Regions from separate parts of the Homo sapiens genome. Here regions 1, 2, 4 and 5 are each linked to region 3. The links are contacts of gene promoters, found by promoter capture Hi-C in human tissues and cell types (Jung and others, 2019). All regions are on one chromosome and are shown on one strand. Each heading gives the region's core, a stretch centred on a gene start or on the middle of the fragment in contact. The rest is flanking DNA. Distances are from core to core; before and after follow the strand shown. Region 1 overlaps CLIP1 (CAP-Gly domain containing linker protein 1). Region 2 overlaps CLIP1 (CAP-Gly domain containing linker protein 1). Region 3 holds the start of CLIP1 (CAP-Gly domain containing linker protein 1). Region 4 overlaps KNTC1 (kinetochore associated 1). Region 5 overlaps RSRC2 (arginine and serine rich coiled-coil 2).

Region 1 (2,700 bases), core at 176-2,675, 97 kb before region 3:
CCTGGTCCTTCTCAGTCTTAGCAATCAAAGTATCTTTGCTGAGCTGGAGCTCTTCAATGAGTGCCTGCATGCTCACCTTGGAAGCTTGCAAAGAGTCATTTTCCACATTTATCTTCAAGAGTTCTTCCTGTACAACATTGATTTCTTTAAGCAATTTCTCTCTCTCAACAGCCAAAGCTTCTTTATTGAGATGTTCCTGCTCATAATACTTTTCGGCATCTTGCTTTTCTTCTAAGAATTTCTCCTTTTCTAAATTAAGAGTTTCATTCACTGACCACAGTTTCTGCTGGTCTCCCTGAAGTAAAGCTATTTTGGCCTCCAATTCTACAAGCTTGGATAAAAGTGAACCGTTTTCTAACTTTAAATCATTTCCCTCCTGAGAAAGAAGCTGCTTCTCTGATTTCAGACCCCTCAGCTCTTCTGACATTAGTTCAATTTCTTTTTTGGCTGATGTTAACAAATAAGTTAGCGACTACAGAAACAAAAGATGGAAAGAATGGAAACAAAAATGAAATCAAGCAGACAAATGCAAGCCCAAATAACTTAATGTAACCTAAATGATAAAAACTTTACAATTTCTACAATAAACTTTATAGAAACTATCTGAATAACAAGGGAAAGAAACTAAACAGAGCCCATAAAAAGGTAAGTCAAAAGTGTAGTTTTGCAAAGTGCTTCTGTATCTGTTAGCTTATTTTATCTTTGAAACAACTTGTGAAATTATTCCCAGTAGCTACCTAGAAGATAAAAATAGTAGCTTGATTTTAATATCAGGGCATAAGATTCTTTCCTGCCATTCCAATTATCAAATTACTTTGAAAGCAGAAAGGATTCATAGAACAATTTTTAAAAATACAATTAAAAGAAGTACAAAAACTCAGTATATTTTAATGAAAAAAGGAAGGGGCATAACAAGGGAAAATAAACTACTGCCTTCCAAACTCACCACAGGACCTTACTTAAGGGTAGCTGAGGGGCTGAGAGTGATTTAGTCCCAATATCACATATAACTTAAAAACTACAGCCTAATTTCTAGGCTTTGCTGACTAAAAGGAATAGTTTTTTTTTTTTATTTACTGAATTATAAGATAATTTGACCACAGTGTCTATACCAGTGCTATCCAGAACTTTCTGCAATGATATAATTTTTTTTTTTTTTTTTTGAGACTGAGTCTCGCTCTATCTATTGCCCAGGCTGGAGTGCAATGGTGCGATCTTGGCTCACTGCAACCTCCGCCTCTGGGTTCAAGCTATTCTCATGCCTCAGCCTCCCAAGTAGCTGGGATTACAAGGCTCCGCCACCGTGCCCGGCTAATTTTTGTATTTTTAGTAGAGACGGGGTTTCACCATGTTGGCCAGGCTGGTCTCAAACTCCTGACCCCAAGTGATCCACCCACCTAGGCCTCCCGAAGTGCTGGGATTACAGGCATGAGCCACCACGCCCAGCTGATATAAATGTTCTTATTTGCACTCCCATCATGGTGACCATATGACTACTGAGCACCTGAAATGTGGTGAGTGCAACTGAGGAGCTAAATTTTTAATTAAAATGTAACAAATTTAAATTTATTTATTTATTTATTTATTTTGGAGGCAGAGTCTCACTCTGTGGCCCAGGCTGGAGGGAAGTGGCGCGATCTCGGCTCACTGCAACCTCTGCCTCCCAGTTTCAAGCGATCCTCTTTTAAGCATATACAAAAATAGAGAAAATAATGTAGACCGCATATATTCCCATATTAAGGTTTTTATTTTTATTTATTTTTTGAGACAGTCTCACTCTGTCACCCAGGCCAGAGTGCAGTGGCACCATCTCAGCTCACTGCAGCCTCCGCCTCCCAGGCTCAAAGGATTCTCCTGCCTCAGCCTCCTGAGTAGCTGGGACTACAGGTGTGTGCCACCACACCCAATTAATTTTTTGTATTTGTAGTAGAGACGGTCTCACGATGTTGTCCAGGGTGGTCTCAAACTCCTGTGCTCAGGCAATCTGCCCACCTTGGCCTCCCAAAGTGCTAGGATTACAGGCGTGAGCCACCAGAACTGGCTACAAATTTACATTTGAATGGCCTCACATGGCTGGTGGCTACTACATTAGGCAGCACAGCTATAGCCCACTGGCTCTTAAAAGTAGGGAATAGGAGGCTTCATGGGTTCCAGGAACCTTGTTGAGTGCACACGTAAACTTTCCTGAAAAAATATCTGTAGATTTCATTAGATTATTCCAAAGAGTCTGGGACTGATTACGATCCACTGAAATTAGATACTAGACACGTTTGGAGGGGAACAGTCCTGGCATTTTTAACTCAATGACTCTTGCACAAAACCAACCAACAAAATCAGTGAGACTGGCCAGGAATGGTGGCTCATGCCTGCAATCCCAGCACCTTGTGAGACTGGCCAGGAATGGTGGCTCACGCCTGCAACCCCAGCGCCTTGTGAGACTGGCCAGGAATGGTGGCTCACGCCTGCAACCCCAGCGCCTTGTGAGACTGGCCAGGAACGATGAATCACGCCTGCAATCCCAGCACCTTGGGAAGCTGAAGCAGGTGGATCGCTTGCATCCAGGGGTTCGAGACCAGCCTGAGCAACATAGCGAGACTCTGTCTCTACAAAAAATAAAAAATTAGCCAGGTGTAGTGGCACGTGCTTTTAGTCTCAGCTACTTGGGAAGCTGAGGCAAGGGGATCACTTGAGCCCGAGAGG
Region 2 (2,700 bases), core at 23-2,522, 78 kb before region 3:
TGAGCTCCGGGATAGTACCCAAGAATCTTCTTCCTTTAAATAAATACCCCAGGGCTAGAAAAACACTTTCTTAACCTGTGCCCTTTCATTGCTAGAAAATTACTTCCCTCTGCTACCTGCTATGCAGTCCATTTAGTACATAGGATGTGTGGAAAATAGCTTCCATCACAAAAATTCTTGGACTAATCTGGGAAATGAAAGGGAACAAAATAATTTTAAAACAGCAGTGAGTCCCATATTTCAAGGATCAAAACTCCTGTGATTGGCTGGGTGAGGTGGTACATGCCTATATACCTAGCACTTTGGGAGGCCAAGGCAAGAGGATCACTTGTGGCCAGGAGTTCAAGATCAGCCTGGGCAACACAGCGAGAACTCCATCTCTACAAAAAAATGTTAAATATTCTTCTGAATTTAAGACTCCTCTCCCACACTGCCTTTCTTTGAGACAGAAAATAACAGATATGTTTTCTTTCATTTCCTCTGTCCACCCTACAGGCTGTGACACCAATAAAGATTAAAATGCCCATAAGAGAAGAGGAAAAGAAAGCACTGAGTCTCCAAAACTGCATAATCAAAGTAAATAAAATTAAATATTTCAGAGCTGACTATAATTGCTGTGCTTCGTGGTTATAGACTCATCAGGTTAAAGATGTTAATTCATTTACACATGATTTTCTGGGGAAGGAAGAGTCCAAGAGTTTGTTACGTCAAAATAACATACAAAACATTAATAAACCCATCAGGATCTGGCAGAATTTGCTAAATAAAAGAAAAAAAAACACAAAACACTAATAAACCCCATTGCTGCAAGGTCTGTAGCATAAATACATTAAACCCAATAGGGCAATGGTTCTTAGTTACAACAAAACAGTCAAGTAGAGAAAAATGCCAAGTAAAAAATAAGTAAAAATAATAAATACCAATGTGATTTTACTTTCCGTGGCATTTCCCTATAAAGTACAGCAATTTATTTTTCATTTCCCAAAATCTGCCCTAATTCAAAACTATGTGGTATGTCTGCTTCTCCCACTAGTTTGAGACCATGAATTAAGTCAGAAATTATTTCTTATTCTTCCTAACATCTCTACAGCACCAAGCACACTGTTTGGAAACTGGATTTATTGGCTAGAAAGTATTCTAAAGCACTTCCTAAAAAGTAACATAGGTGATATGAAACTTACATGGGTAGCTGGTTATCTTAACACTTGGGAACCCAAGAGTGAGGATCAACAGAAGACATACTTCGTTATGGAAAGATATAAGCTTTACACTGAAATACTTGGATAAACCATGGTGTAACTGAATGCCTTATCTAGAGCAGGAAAAAAAACATCAAAATTGTTTGCTGACAAAACTAAGATACGGGAGAGGAGTTTACATGTTTTAAAAAAATATATTACTTCAAAAGCCATCACACTAAAGGAACTCAATCTCATTAGTCCATTGTATTTCCCGGATCAATTATTTGGCTCTCAGTTAATGAGGAAACAGCACCAAATTGCCACTTTTTTTTTTTTTTTTGAAACAGGGTCTTGCTCTATTGCCCAGGCTGGAGTGCAGAGACATGAACATGGCTCACTGCAAGCCTCGACCTCCTGGGCTCAAGAGATCCTTCCACCTCAGCCTGCCATGTAGCCACCACACCCAGCTAATTTTTTTTTTTATTTTTTGTAGAAGCAGGGTATCACCACCTTGCCCAGGCTGGTCTTGAATTCTTGGACTCAGGTGATCCTCCTGCCTTGGCCTCCCAAAGTGCTGGGATTACAGGCATGAAACACCATGCCTGGCCCACTCTTTTTTTGTTTTCTTACCAAATACACAGGAGAAATCTTTAGTTCAGAGGCCGATAGTTCCTTCTTCTTAAAAAATAAAAACACATGATTTAGAAAAGAAAAATTGTCTAGATTTTTAGATCAGTCAATTAATTCTCAACAAGAGAAATTTCTACAAACACTAGAAATTTTTTTAAAAATCAGGATAGCAAATTTGATTAGAGACAGAGTAATTTTTGGAATTCTAAAGTTAAGAATCTGGGCAATTTAGTCACTGACAGACAAATTCATGATTTAAAAGGGTATGTGACTACATATCTTACATGTAAGTGACTATTTCTTTTTCTTTTTTTTTTTTTGAGACAGAGTTTCGCTCTTGTTGCCCAGGCTGGAGTGCAATGGCGTGATCTCGGCTCACCGCAACCTCTGCCTCCCAGGTTCAAGTGATTCTCCTGCCTCAGCCTCCCTAGTAGCTGGGATTACAGGCATGTGTCACCACGCCCGGATAATTTTAGTATTTTTAGTAGAGATGGGGTTTCTCCATGTTGGCCAGGCTGGTCTCAAACTCCCAACCTCAGGTGATCCACCCACCTCAGCCTCCCAAAGTGCTGGGATTACAGGCATGAGCCACCGCGCCTGGCCATTTCTTAATCTTTACGCACAAAACAACTTCCATAATAGACGGACTCCATCCTGTGGTGCTTAAGAGCACAGACTCTGGGGCCAAATGTCCTAGATGCAAATCCTGCCTCCATTATTACTATTTGCTGTTTTATCTTAGGCAAGTTATTTAACTTCTCTGCGCCTCAGTGTTCTTGTCTGTAAAATGGGGACACTAATATTCCCTACCTCCTAGGGTTGTGTTGAGACTGAATACCTGCAAAGCACTTAGAATAGTGTCTGGCATGAAGTATGCACTATATAGGTG
Region 3 (2,700 bases), core at 139-2,638:
CAAGTCTGAGAAGCGACATGCCTGGGGATTCTTGCTAAAGGTTATCATTAAATCTAAAAGTCAAACAAACACATTCCTGACTCTGGGATACTCTCCTGATTCGTGGATACCATCGCTAACAGTAGTGACACAAATCAAATAATAAGAACAGCCAGAATCATAACCCTAATGACAGCAGTGGCCACAGCACTTAATACTTATAGAGCTGCTAGGGGCCACTGTCCTAAAAGAGGAAGAAGGCCAGGCTGCTGAATCACACACACACAATTACAGAATCTTCTCCACCCTTTGTTTTAAAAAACAGTTCACTGGCGCCCAAGTTTTGCTAAAAACAGGTATCTAAACCGATGACGGACAACGTGTAATTTCTTCATACCAAAGAGGTGGGGCTGTGCAGGGAGGAGGGGGTGGCGCTCGGCTCCTGCCAGATGGAAAAGCCACATGAAGTGGAGAAACAGCCGGATTCAGGATTCACCCCCGAATCAAAACCCGATTTTTGAAAGGCAGGACCTTCCAATTCGGGCAATCGCTAGGTTCTGCTTGTAAAATAACCTCTGAACAAGTGTCATCTGCCTTCCGCGCCAATCCCCTGCCGCGGTAGAAGGTTCGGATTACCGGGCAGCGGTGTGATTTCGGAAACCCGAGAGCGATCTGGCCACCTCCAGCCTTCCCCGGTCTCCGAGAATCACAGCCCCACTTGAGAGGAAAACAAAAGCCGGGGCAGCGGGGGAGGCCGGGCCAGGGTGCCCTCCATGCCGGATCGCGGGCGCCGGGCACCCGGGGCCTGAGGAATGCTCAGGTGACAGGCGCGGCGCCCGGGGCAACAGGTCCCGCCCGGCTTCGGCCTCCCGGGGTCCGGCCGATCCCACATCCGCCCCGGGGCCCAGGAGAGGGAGCGGGGCGCCAGGGAGAGAGCGGCGCCTGGGGCGGCGCAGGGGCAAGGAGTCCAAGCTCCATCTTGAGGCGGGCGGAGGAAGCGAAGGCCCGGCTCGGCGCTGACAGGGCCGCCACTTTTCCAGCTCCGGAGGAGCCCCCCAGGGACCCCCGGCCTCCGGCGCCGGCCACCCGAGACTCCCGCGGTCCCCTCCCGGACGGCTCCGGCGCGCGAGGCTCGGCCCCGCTCCCGGACGCCGGGCTTCGACCCCCGACCCGACCCTGGGCGGGCCCCGCAGGCCGGGAAGCCGGCAGGGGAGCAGGGGGTGCCGGGAAAGGGAGAGGGCCCGCGCCGCCCCCTGCTCACCTCCTCGGACGCCGCCGGTCGCCGCCACCTGTCCCACTGCAGCAGCAGCAGCCGCCGCGGCCGCCGCCTCCCGCCTCCCGGCTCGTCGGCTCGGGGCGGGGGAGAGCGTGACGCGCCGCCGCCGCCGCGGGGCCGGGCGGGCGCGCGCTGCCAGGAGAAGACGCCGCGCGGCTCCTCCCAGCGCTCCGCCGCCGCGCCCGCCCGGCCGGCCCGGCCGGCCCGGCCCCTCGAGTCCGCACCGGCCCTGCGGCCCGCGCCCGGCCCCGCGCCGCCCCGCCGCCTCTTTGTCTGCGCCCACCGCGGCCCCGGGAGGACCCTGGCCCCGGCGCGCCCGCCGCTCCGCCCTCGAACCCTCCCGAGCCCCGGCTTGGGGAGCAAGGTGCGAGGGAAAACCCACAGGCCTGCTCCGAGGGGCTTCTCGTCATTTCTGCAAAGTGTTCCCAGAATTTGCAAGTCACACCCAAGAGCCCCATTCAGCCTCGACCTCAGCCCGCTCTTTGGGGCTGATTCATTTGTTTGCCCTCCCCTTCCCGCCAGACAAGGGTGAGAAATCCTTTGAAACAGGCTGCAAGGCGCTTCCGAAGCAGGTTAAGTTGGGGATTGGGAAGGATCATCTCTGCCCTCGCCTCCCTCCAGGGAAAGACCCTGGATGAGGCGTCCCTGGAGAAAATGCTGAAAGGAACTGTAGAGCAGGTTAAGCTTGGGAAGAACTGTATCTGCTCCCCACTTCCCTCCGGGAACGACCGCGGGTTAAAAATCCTTTGAAACGATCCCAGGGTTTGCTCCGTTCGTTTGAGAAAAGCCCCTTTTATTCGCCCTGGCTGCTTGGACGGAAGCCCTGGTTAGTGTCCCATCCTCCTTCCCCCCTGGGATTTCCTTTAAAAGCTTTTGAAAGGGACAGGAGGGAAGGCTGCAACAGCCTGCTCGGGGCTGGGGTAGCAGAGGGCGGCCAGCATTTCACTCCCATGGACCATGGCAACCCCAGAAGCCTTACATCTCCAGGGAGGAATTTGCAGCTGTCGGGGAAGCCCAGGATTTTGTGGTGGATAAGGGGGCAGGGGCTTCCTCCTCCTTGCCAGTAGAAGAGAATAATCGGCGGGTGACCCCTCTAGCTGACCTTTATTCAAAGCACCGTGCTGCCTGGACCAGCAGGAAGAGGGAACTGCTCTGGTAATGCACGAAGTTCTGAACTATGTAAATTTGTCTCCTGGCCCCTCCTCTCCATTCATGTCTGAAATCCCTCGAAATGCTGTTACCTAATTCAACATCGCCCTAATTTACAGGCTGCAAGGTCAGGTGGTGGTGGTACTCCTGAAATCCCATATCCATATTCCTAATCTGAAAGGCGCGCCTCACCCCCTAATCTAAACAGTCTTCAGCTGTAATCAGCAAGCTGTGGAATCATAGATGTCATAGGATGAGGCACAGACCACTTCTAATGGGGGAGTTCAGCTAGGAAC
Region 4 (2,758 bases), core at 139-2,638, 110 kb after region 3:
CCCAGGCTGGAGTACAGTGGCATGATCTCAGCTCACTGCAAGCTCTGCCTCCCAGGTTCACGCCATTCTCCTGCCTCAGCCTCTCAAGTAGCTGGGACTACAGGCGCCCGCCACTATGCCCAGCTAATTTTTTGTATTTTTAGTAGAGACGGGGTTTCACCATGTTAGCCAGGATGGTCTCGATCTCCTGACCTCGTGATCCGCCCGGCTCGGCCTCCCAAAGTGCTGGGATTACAGGCTTGAGCCACCGCACCCGGCCATTTGTTTTTTTTTTTTTTAAGAGAGACTCTCACTCTGTAGCCCAGGCTGGAGTACAGTGATGTGATATTGACTCATTACAACCTCCCACTCCTGGATTCAAGTGATTCTCCTGCCTCAGCCTCTGGAGTAGCTGGGATTATAGGCGCCTGCCACCACGCCTGGCTAATTTTTCTTTTTTTTTTTTTTTTTTTTTGAGACGAACTCTTGCTCTGTCACCAGGCTGGAGTGCAGTGGCGTGATCTTGGCTCATTGCAACCTCCGCCTCCTGGGTTCAAGCGATTCTTCTGCCTCACCCTCCCGAGTAACTGGGAATACAGACACGAGCCACCACACCCAGCTAATTTTTGTGTTTTTAGTAGAGATGAGGCTTCACCATGTTGAGCAGGATGGTCTCGATCTCTTGACCTTGTGATCCACCCACCTCGGCCTCCCAAAGTTCTGGGATTACAGGTGTGAATCACTGTGCCCGGGCTTTATTTTTTAATATTATCAGGAGCCTTAAAACGTGGAAGTGGCTCAGGCCTTTCTTGACCTCAAGGTTGCTGTTGAAAAATAATAGTGCATGTGTATAGAATCTTGGATTCTGGTAGGAACTAAAATTCTATCTATTATTAGCACGTGGCATACACTTACCAACATGTTTTGAACATCTGCTATGTTCTGAGCCCAATATTAGGAACTTGGACATAAGATGGCATCTTATTCATTCCTTTTAGGATCTTACCTTAAAGTTAGGCACACAGGACACAAACAATAAAAGATGCTTAGCTGTGCAAGTCAGTATATGCTAAATGCCAAATGAACAGTACAGACAGTAAATGAGTAGGAATTCAGTGGCTGGAGAGCTCATTGTCGGTTGGGCAGTTTAAGGAGCATTTCCTTAAGAAACTATGTGTGAGCCCGGTGTGGTGGCATGTCCTGTAGTCCCAGCTACTCAGGCTGAGGCAGGAGAATGGCGTGAGCCCAGGAGTTTGAGGCCAGCCTGGGCAACATAGGGAGACAACATCTCTAAAAAAAATAAAAATTAAAATAAACTACACTTGCTTTGGGCCTTAAGAAGGAGAACAGTCTAGAGAGAAGAGTCTAGAGAGAACAGTGTGGACAGATCCCTAGAAGATATAGTGCCGTTCCTTTTCTTTTTTTTTTTTTTGAGGCAGAGTCTTGCTCTGTTGCCCAGGCTGGAGTGCAGTGGTGTGATCTTGGCTCACTGCAACCTCTGCCTCTCGGGTTCAAGTGATTCTCGTGCCTCAGCCTCCCCAGTAGCTGGGATTACATGCGTCCGCCACCACGCCCGGCTAATTTTAGTGCCATTCCTTGTTGGCAGTGCCTTCATGTAACCTTTTACTAGTTGAAGAAGCAAGTAAAAAGATAAGAAGGAGGCTGGGCGCAGTGCCTCACATTTGTATTCCCGGCACTTTGGGTGGTTGGGATGGAAGGATCGTTTGAGTCCAGGAGTTCTAGACCAGCCTGGCCAACACAGTGAAAACCCCGTCTCTATAAAAGAAAAAGAAAATTAGCCAGGTGTGATGGTGTGCATGTGTAGTCCCAGCTACTTGGGTTGGGGAGGCACGAAGATCCCTTGAGCCCAGGTGTTTAAGGCTGCAGTGAGTTATGATGGCATCACTGCATTCCAACCTGAGCGACAGAGGGAGACCCTGTCTCAAAATAAAGAAAAAAATAAGGTAGAAGAGGGATCAGAATGTTGGGGAATTTTCAAGGATTACACCTGGAGAAGATGACTTTTGAAATAGTCATAAAATGAGGTGATTAGCTGTATTTTGTCAGGGAAGAATAGGACTGGTTAACATTTATTGAGCATATACTATGTGCAGGGCTCTCTCATAAGCCCTTTACGTGAATTCGTTTAATCTTTATTCAGGTGAACCTTGTAGGTATTATTATTGTTACTCTTTTACATGGAGTTAGTTGATGCATTTGCCTAAGATCACTTAGCTAGTAAGGGACTGAGCTTCCTCAACCACTAATCTGTCCCAGTGCTTCAAGACAGCTATGTGTGGGAGGCTCTTGGCAACAGAAACTGAATACTGGAGACTCTGATTTGGCTTGTCTACTGTTTTTAAAAATGTTGGCTTAGCTGCCAATATTTAAAAATCAGAACATTTCACATAAAGATCCAGCTTCTGTTGATGAATTGGGAGGTATGGCCATGCCAGTGCTGCATCCCCACCAGGCTTCCCACTGGCTGGTGTGAAGTAGACTCTATTCTTTCATGTCTGTGGGGGCATGGACCCTCCAGTTCACAGTTCACCACCGTTCCCCTGCCTAGCGTATCCACGACACCAAGACTTTATTCCAATCTTGATTAATTCATTATGTTAATACCTGGCTCCTGCAGCATAAAGTCAATCCTGAGGAAACAAGGACTTGAACATGAGAATCCTTTGCCCTTCCTGCTCATCCTGAACTGTTTTTCTACTTAGGATCCTGGATGGATTCAAGATATACCATACAAAGAAAAACTCGATGATTAATTAGA
Region 5 (2,792 bases), core at 39-2,538, 85 kb after region 3:
CAGGGTGTAACAAAAGTTAACTTCAGTTTAGTAGGTTGGAAAAAACATAATATGTAGAAGATGTCAGGGTATAAATGCCACAGAGGAAAGTAAAGTAGAAAATGGGGATGGAGGCTGGGCGCAGTGGCTCAGAACTGTGATCCAGGGCTTTGAGAGGCCGAGGTGGAAGGACTGCTTGAGCCTCGAAGTTTAAGGCTGCAGTGAGGTATGACTGCACCACTGTACTCCAGCCCAAGTGACAGAGCAAGCAGAGCAAAACCCCGTCTCTCTCTCTCTCTCCAAGTGTGTGTGTAGGGAGGACAGTGGGTAGGGGAGATGGAAATGTTTCAGAATGGGATTGCTTGTTATTTCACAAAAGGTGGTGGGAAAGAACTCAAAAACGCTGACACCTGAGTAAAGACCAGAACTAAGAAAATGAGGGAAGAACAGTGCAGGAGGGCTAATAGCTAATACAAAGATCCCCTGGCACATGTGAAACTCACCTTAATACCCATCAATTTCCTAAATTTGACATTTTGGTCCTTGTTTCCAAAATTCAATTTTTCCCATATTTCAGCAGATTGGGATTTGTCCTGTTAACAAACACTGAACTTTAAAATATGTAAAATTTAAATATTTTTTAGGACATGAAATCTCTCAACAATGTCTAAATTAAAAAAAAAAACACCATGGATAGCATTCAATCAATGTAAGTTTAATTATTTCAAGACTTAAGAAACCACAAAGCAAAGAAATACAAGCAAGAGGTTGGCGCCGTGCTTCACTCCTATAATCCCAGCACTTTGGAAGGCCGAGGTGGGCAAATCACCTGAGGTCAGGGGATCGAGACTAGCCTGGATGACTAGGTGAAACCCCGTCTCTACTAAAAATACAAAAAACTAGCCTGGCATGGTGGTGGGCACCTGTAGACCCAGGAGGGTCTCAGGAGTCTGAGGCAGGAGAATTGCTTGAACCTGGGAGGCAGAGGTTGCAGTGAGCTGAGATCACACCACTGCATTCCAGCCTGGGTGACAAGAGCAAGACTCTGTCTCAAAAATAATAAAAATAAAATAAAAAAATGGATTATTTTCCTGTCATAGACCTTTTTCAACATGCAATTTTTGCGACTGCATGTCATTTGCATTTAATGTCATTTGTCATTGCAAATAATGTCAAAAAAAAAAAAGTACCTCATAATCTATGAAAAATTCTAAACCAAGTAGCCTCTTTTCCTTACTACTTCTATGGTAATATTAGTTTTCTTTGAAAGCTTGACTTCAATCAATTATGTTTTATTTTAGTATTAATAACTGGCAAATAAGACTATCATAGCTTATTATAAGTTTTTTGAGACAGGGTCTCACCCAGGCTGAAGTGCAGTGGCGTGATTTTTTTTTTTTTTTTCCAGATGGAGTTTCGCTGGAAACTCACTGCAACCTCCGCCTCCCAGGATCAAGTGATTCTCCTGTTTCAGCCTCCCAAGTAGCTGGGATTACAGGTGCCCACCACCATGCCTGGCTAAGTGGCATGATCTTGGCTCACTGTATGTAGGCTCTGCATCCCAGGCTCAAGCGATTCTCCTGCCTCAGCCTCCCAAGCACCTGGGATTACAGGTGTGTGCCACCACACCCAGCTGATTTTTATCTTCTTTTCAGTAGAGACAGGGTTTTGCCATGTTGGCCAGGCTGGTCTTGGACTCCTTACCTCAACTGATCCGCTCACTTGGCATCCCAAAGTGCTGGGATTAAAGGCATAAGCCACCCGCGTCTGGCCACCCCAGGTTCTTACAAAGTTAAGCCGAAAGTAATATTTTTCAACCCAAATTTGTTTTTCTAAGCAATTACTAATTAGGAATAAACGACAGAAAAGCAGAATAAGAGAACTTACCCCTTCTTTCTTGCCCTGCCAAAGCATTTTCCTTTTTTTCTCTTGTTCAGCAAATTTCATTGGATTAACAGCGGCTGGGTTATAGTAGCTAGGAACAGCTATTCCTGTCTCTGCCAAAGCTTTAGCTTGCAGGGCTGCCATCTGAGCTGCCATGGCTATCTGAGGTGTTACTTGTGTTCCTGATGCCAACAGGGCAGCAACATTGAGAACAGAACCTCCAGTAGCTGCAGCTGCTTGAAGAGAATACAAAAATGGATTTTAAAACGATTTTAAAACATAAACCTCCTGATTTACATTAACGAACGATTTATAAAAAGCTATGAATGTGCAAAAAGGCAGGATTTTCACCAAATCCAAGGAAATGACTGAGTATTAGCTCACAAGTTTTTAGCAAACATTTATTGTGTTCATCAACGGACATATTTCTACATAAACCCTTGATATATAAACCATTTATTGCAAGGCGCAGTGGCTCACGCCTGTAATCCCAGCACTTTGGGAGGCTGAGGTGGGCGGATCACCTGAGGTTGGGAGTTCGAGACCAGCCTGACCAACATGGAGAAACCCCGTCTCTACCAAAAATACAAAATTAGCCGGGCGTGGTGGTACATGCCCGTAATCTCAGCTACTCGGGAGGCTGACGCAGGAGAATCACTTGAACCCAAAAGGCGAAGGTTGCAGTGAGTCGAGATCATGCCACTGCACTCCAGCCTGGGCAACAAGAGCGAAACTCCGTATCAAAACAAAAAAAAAACCCATTTATTTACTTTGAGGATAGAGAATTCTGCAAATAGTAAGAAAGTATGATTTCAGTGGAGATGAACTATAGTGTTTCTAAGGTATAATTACAAAACAATAAAACCTTGTATTTTTTTAAATTTATGAAATGTTCTCATGGACATTTCATTTGATGCTCACATCATATA

The links. The method cuts DNA at HindIII sites, captures the fragments that hold promoters and counts their contacts. A contact is called where the count stands out against the background at its distance.
Region 1: a contact is called between a fragment that was not itself captured here and the fragment with the promoter of CLIP1 in region 3, in 12 of the 25 tissues and cell types used here (H1 embryonic stem cells, IMR-90 fibroblasts, aorta and 9 more).
Region 2: a fragment that was not itself captured here is called in contact with the fragment with the promoter of CLIP1 in region 3 in 5 of the 25 tissues and cell types used here (H1 embryonic stem cells, aorta, mesenchymal stem cells and 2 more).
Region 4: a fragment that was not itself captured here is called in contact with the fragment with the promoter of CLIP1 in region 3 in 2 of the 25 tissues and cell types used here (hippocampus and pancreas).
Region 5: a fragment that was not itself captured here is called in contact with the fragment with the promoter of CLIP1 in region 3 in 2 of the 25 tissues and cell types used here (IMR-90 fibroblasts and spleen).

What each region holds. Positions count from the first base shown.
Region 1 is chr12:122,323,910-122,326,609 of GRCh38, forward strand. All of the region lies in intron 17 of CLIP1 (CAP-Gly domain containing linker protein 1), which reads right to left. Among named protein-coding and RNA genes, the nearest start is that of VPS33A, 59 kb to the left of the region's middle. The HindIII fragment of the contact is 8,257 bases long and covers 1-2,700 here.
Region 2 is chr12:122,343,672-122,346,371 of GRCh38, forward strand. All of the region lies in intron 10 of CLIP1 (CAP-Gly domain containing linker protein 1), which reads right to left. Among named protein-coding and RNA genes, the nearest start is that of CLIP1-AS1, 51 kb to the right of the region's middle. The HindIII fragment of the contact is 6,248 bases long and covers 1-2,700 here.
Region 3 is chr12:122,421,281-122,423,980 of GRCh38, forward strand. CLIP1 (CAP-Gly domain containing linker protein 1) reads right to left here and starts at 1,389. Exons shown (of 26, transcript NM_001247997.2): 1 at 1,241-1,389. RefSeq lists silencers at 686-1,085, 1,106-1,455 and an enhancer at 2,565-2,664. The HindIII fragment of the contact is 23,258 bases long and covers 1-2,700 here.
Region 4 is chr12:122,531,774-122,534,531 of GRCh38, forward strand. All of the region lies in intron 2 of KNTC1 (kinetochore associated 1), which reads left to right. Among named protein-coding and RNA genes, the nearest start is that of KNTC1, 5.9 kb to the left of the region's middle. The HindIII fragment of the contact is 6,906 bases long and covers 1-2,758 here.
Region 5 is chr12:122,506,352-122,509,143 of GRCh38, forward strand. RSRC2 (arginine and serine rich coiled-coil 2) reads right to left here. Exons shown (of 10, transcript NM_023012.6): 8 at 1,867-2,096; 9 at 483-572. Among named protein-coding and RNA genes, the nearest start is that of ZCCHC8, 6.8 kb to the left of the region's middle. The HindIII fragment of the contact is 4,115 bases long and covers 1-2,792 here.